2 separate regions of the Homo sapiens genome follow, and region 1 is linked to region 2. Evidence: promoter capture Hi-C in 16 types of primary human blood cells and fetal thymus (Javierre and others, 2016). All regions are on one chromosome and are shown on one strand. The core of a region is centred on a gene start or on the middle of the fragment in contact, and the rest is flanking DNA. Distances in the headings are between cores, read along the strand shown. Region 1 overlaps NFAT5 (nuclear factor of activated T cells 5). Region 2 holds the start of NOB1 (NIN1 (RPN12) binding protein 1 homolog).

The links. The method cuts DNA at HindIII sites, captures the fragments that hold promoters and counts their contacts. A CHiCAGO score of 5 or more calls a contact.
Region 1: a fragment that was not itself captured here is called in contact with the fragment with the promoter of NOB1 in region 2 in 1 of 17 cell types (naive CD4 T cells); the score reaches 5.5 in naive CD4 T cells.

Annotation. Positions count from the first base shown.
Region 1 is chr16:69,703,294-69,705,993 of GRCh38, reverse strand. NFAT5 (nuclear factor of activated T cells 5) reads right to left here. Exons shown (of 15, transcript NM_138713.4): 15 at 1,340-2,700. Among named protein-coding and RNA genes, the nearest start is that of SNORD13H, 4.0 kb to the left of the region's middle. The HindIII fragment of the contact is 3,242 bases long and covers 1-2,700 here.
Region 2 is chr16:69,753,674-69,756,373 of GRCh38, reverse strand. NOB1 (NIN1 (RPN12) binding protein 1 homolog) reads left to right here and starts at 1,448. Exons shown (of 9, transcript NM_014062.3): 1 at 1,448-1,526; 2 at 1,648-1,780. The coding sequence starts at 1,464. It also overlaps the pseudogene NONOP1. RefSeq lists enhancers at 1,156-1,778, 1,779-2,402. The HindIII fragment of the contact is 2,537 bases long and covers 310-2,700 here.

The DNA.
Region 1 (2,700 bases), core at 26-2,525, 50 kb after region 2:
GGCTCAAGTGGTCCTCCTGCCTCGACCTCCCAAAGTGTTGGGATTACAGGCATGAGCCACCATGCTTGGCAAGGCATACTGTATTTAGAACAGAAGGATTGTTTAAAAAATAATAATAAATTTTATATATATGTATATATATATATAAAATCTCCTAACAACTCATTTAGATATATATATATAGATTTGGATGTATTAAGAATTGTTACTCCTTTACAGAATCAACAGATACTGTCTATATTTGATAGGAAGGTATAAGTATGCTGTCTAAAGCAATGTCTTTTACGATTCAATTAGATACCATATTCATGACACCCATGTATCTGTATTAGCATTTTTTTAAAAAATATTTTTCTTCCTTTTTCCTTTCATTTAAACATCAAAAAAAAAAAAATAGAGACAGGGTCTTGCTATGTTGCTCAGGCTGGTCTCCAACTCCTGGCCTCAAGTGATCCTCCTGTCTTAGCCTCCCGAGTAGCTGGGATTACAGAGGCATGAGCCACTGAGCCCAGTGATTTAATATTTTTCTTTAATTTGACTCACTTTTTCCCTCACTCTGGTAGGTAGACACATTATTATTTTTTTATTTTTTAGACAGAGTCTCGCCCCGTTGCCCAGGCTGGAGTGCAATGGTGCGATCTCTGCTCACTGCAACCTCCGTCTCCCGGGTTCAAACGATTCTCCTGCCTCTGTCTGCCAAGTAGCTGGGATTACAGGTGCCCGCCACTATGCCCAGCTATTTTTTGTATTTTTAGTAGAGATGGGGTTTCACTATGTTGGCCAGGCTGGTCTCGAACTCCTGACCTCAGGTGATCTGCCTGCCTCAGCCTCCCAAAGTGCTGGGATTACAGGCGTGAGCCGCTGAGCCCAGCCTATATTTTTTTCTATTACGCATCAAAACACTTATACATGTAAGTTTAAAAATAGTGTTTATCCACGTACCACGGGTAGTTGTGTACCACACTCTGATATGCGCTAATTTAGAGATGTAGAAATAACACCAAAAGAATAAACAGAGATTGTCTCTGGGCATGGGACTAAGGGATGGGGAGACTTGGTTTTCATCAAAAGCACCTCCGTGTATATGTATTGCTTTACTAAACATGAAACATTTAAATTATACGTAAAACAAAAATTCTGTCACACTGAGTCACTTATACTCTACCTGGCAAAATGGTAGGCACAAAATAACTACTCAGAAATATGTCTATATTTCACACCTCCTCCCTAATGATTTTATAATTTCAGCCATATACTCATGCTGCTCAAAACTGTCGTTCATGCACACAATTCCATTCACAAAGTTTGAGGAAAAAAAAGACAGCTATCCACTGCAAAATGAAAACTTTCAGTGTTTTATTTTTGACTGCAGCTGTTTACAGAAATATAGTTGCGAGTATACAAATGTTCCAATAGAAGCAAAATATCTTTTTAATATTTAACAAGTTATCACAGATAGCTAAAAACATAGATGCAAATGAAATTCCCCCAGAGAACAAACTGAAAATATCTGGTATCAGTGCTCTGAAATCCCAACTATGAAAGCCATATACACAAAAATGTAACCCTTATATCATTGCAGGACAATGGAAGAAGGCAGTTCAGTGGTTGATCAGTGTGCTCAAGCAAATAAAATTAAATAAAAATTAAAAATGGCAGAATGGTAGCTAAACCACTTGAGAACAGGTTAATGAAATTATTGGTACTATACTTAAAACATTAAGTAAAAGAAGTGAATGAAACTCATTTAAAGTTGTCAAAAAATTAGCAACTACTTGGAGCTTATCAATTAAAAGGAAACAAGGTAAGCAGACACATTCATTAGATCAAAAGAAATTAGATCAAGTTCACTGGAATCAGTCTGTAACTACTCAAGTCACAATGACTTCAGTGCAGGAGTTTTTTACTGGACACAGAAGTCTGATTCCAAGCCCACTCTTCAACAGCTGAGATTTTGTGTGCGTGTATGTATGTGTGTGTGTGTAGACGTTGTCCTGAGGTTCATCAGCTAAAATAATATAATAAGCAATCCCTACAAAATATTTCAAACCAGGCAAATGACTTCTGGAAGAGAGAGAAAGGAAGGGGAGAGGGAGGGAGAATATGAGTAAGCAAGCAGGGTCATATGGTTAAACATGGAATTTTTTAAAGGAGTTATTACAAGTGGGAGTCAAATAGAACTGTGGTAGAATGCTTTGGGTACAGGAATATGTTATGCAATAAAGTGAGGAAGAGAAAAAGGGAATAAGAAGGGAGGAATGTAACTAGAGCAGCTCCCAACAGTTTGCCTATGTATTTGCCAGCACCAAAATTTGTAGAGTAAGCCACTTACATTTCCACTGCTAGTATTAAGGAAAGACAGCAGTGGTGATTTTTATAAAGTGAGTATACATTTATTTTTATTCTGATATGTGAATTTTTCTTTCACGAGTTAATTAACTGGTAATTTGTAAACAGTGGGAAGAAGATTAGAACAATTATGGAGGTACTGAATTACACAAGGAGATTAAAATGAAATGAATCAATCTACCTATCTTGTGGTTAGTTTATATTTACCATGATGCATACACTTGAGAAACGAGAAATGCCCAAATTGTATAATGCATTATCTTGTTTATTATTTATTTTAGTAAATAATTCTTGTCTGAAACATAAGCTCCAAGGATAGCTATATCTATACTGATAGCTTAGTTCTTATAC
Region 2 (2,700 bases), core at 199-2,698:
GGTGGTATTAAACAAGTCAATTCTATGTAGTATATTATTTAATCAGTTCTGTGTGGTGCATTCCTGAAGTCTCAAATGTGATTGTTGAGGGCCTGGGGAAACCATGGCAAAGTAGATCCAGTTAGAGCCCATTAATCTTGATCATTCTGTTTTTTTGGTTTGTTTGTTGTTTTTTTTTTTTTTTTTTTTTGTCCATCTTGTTTCATTTGCTTGCCCTGCCCCCGAGATGGAGTCTTACTCTGTCGCCCAGGCTGGAGTGTAGTGGCACGATCTCGGCTCACTGCAATCTCTGCCTCTCGGGTTCAAGCTTGTCCAGGCTGATCTTGAACTCCTGACCTCGTGATCCCCTGCCTCAGCCTCCCAAAATGCTGGGATTACAGGGGTGAGCCACCGTGCCCAACCTCACTTGCTTTCTTATCCTTACACTCCCCCAGTCCCAGAGAAACTGCCACATACACCACAAAAACCAAACATCCCCCAATGACCTTAGCCGCATTGCTCCATTCACTCCCAGGTGAGAATTCAGGTAAACGTCCACAAAGGTCACAGGCAACGTACATACGGTTCTATTATATCCCATATATTACCCCTTCATGTCCTAAAGAAGACATTTTCTCTTAGAGATTTTCATTTTAGTATATCTTTAAAAAAAAATCTTGTGTTAACTTGCCTCCATCTTTTTCTTGGGTGAGGACACCCAGGAATGACCCTTTTGTGTCTATGATACTGCTGTTCACAGCTTTTCTTGATAGGCCTAGTACAATCTTGGGAACAGGGTTACTGTATACTGAAGGTCTGACAGTAGCTCTTAGACTCGCCTATCTTAGGTAGTCATGCTGTGCCTTTTTTTTCCATTGGTGTATTGTATTTGATTTGTCTCTGATATATTTGGAGTTTTTCTGAGAACTGGAGCAGTAATGCAGCATCGACCTATTAAAATACATTTTAAGCCTTTAAAAAAAAACAGTACCTATCTCATAGGGGTGCTGTGATAACGAAATTAGGTAATCTGTATTGATTGACTTTTAACCATAAGAATATATACAGGTTTTAAATTTATTTATTTATTGAAGAGATGGGGGTCTCTCTATGTTGCCCAGGCTGGTTTCACATTCCAGGGCTCAGGCAATCCTTTCGCCTCAGCCTCCTTAATAGCTGGGACTCTAGGCGCGCACCACTACACCTGGCAGGTTTTATCTTCAAAGGTGAAGAAGGCACTAAGGTCTAGATGCTGAAGCCGATTTCCCAGGTGTCCCCCAAGGTTTGACCCCGCCCACACTTCTCTGGCTATGCGGGCGGCGTCGCTGCGCATGCGCGCGAGTAGAGCAGGGAGGTGCTGGCGCGGCCGCCAGGAGGCGCAGCTAAGTCGCGGCTGCTCTTCCTGGTTCCCAGAGGCCCAGACTTGGACATAGGAGCCGGCGCAAGCTCCGTGCGCATGCGCGCTCCCCTCTCACGCAGCCAACATGGCTCCAGTGGAGCACGTTGTGGCGGATGCTGGGGCTTTCCTGCGGCATGCGGCTCTGCAGGTACGGGGAGCTCCCTCCGGGACGAGAGAGATCTGGGCTGGCCGCCCCTCCCGGAGTGCGTGGAGTCGCGCGGAGCGTTGCTTGGTGCGGGTGGGTCTGAGCTGGGGCGTTCTGTCCGCAGGACATCGGGAAGAACATTTACACCATCCGGGAGGTGGTCACTGAGATTCGGGACAAGGCCACACGCAGGCGGCTCGCTGTCCTGCCCTACGAGCTGCGGTTCAAGGAGCCCTTACCGGAATACGTGCGGCTGGGTGAGTGCCTCTGCCCTAGCGTTGACGGGAAGCTGGGGTCCAGGGCGCAGATGGCACCCAGTTGGGTGCGAGTTGGGGTCTAGCTGCCTTATCAGAGCAGTAGATTTAGAGCCAGCACTTTCTAGGAGATTGTGGTAGGAGAGAGGCTTCCTGGGTCTGGAGTCCTCCAGTAACTAGCTGTATGCTCTCGGGCATAGCATTCAAATTTGGGCCTCGTTTACCTCATCCGCAAAATGGGAATAATAATTGTATCTGTCTCCAAGGTTGCTGTGAGCATGAACTGAGGAATATGGCAGTCAGCTCAGTGTCAAGCACTTTGCAGACAAGCAATAAATTTATTTGGATTTAAAATAAGAGTTTGGATCTCTTGCTATTACTCTCGTCCATTTCTTTTCAGTAGATTGGGCTGATGACTGGATACAAAGATCTGCACCTGGCAGAGCTTTAAAAAGGGAATGCTTTGCATTGTATTAAATGTGAAAGAAAATTAAGCTGGGCGCGGTGGCTTACGGCCTGTAATCCCAGCACTGGGAGACCGAGGCGGGCGCATCACCTGAGGTCAGGAGTTTGAGACCAGCCTGACCAACATGGTGAAACCCTGCCTCTACTAAAAATACAAAATTAGCTGGGCGTGGTGGTGTGCTCCTGTAATCCCAGCTACTTGGGAGGCTGAGGCAGGAGAATTGCTTGAACCTGGAGGTGGAGGTTGCAGTGAGCCGAGATCGTACCACTGCACTCCAGCCTGGGCGACAGAGCGAGACTCTGTCTCAAAAAAAATAAGAAATAAAGAAAATTAAAGAATTGTCTCTTGGCTTAGGAGTCAGCGTTGTTCTCTTGTTGGGAATCAAGGTGATACCCAGGAAAGGCCCCTCAGTGGTTGGAAGTGTTTTAGAGGTTAGAGGCTGATAGTGGAGATGATG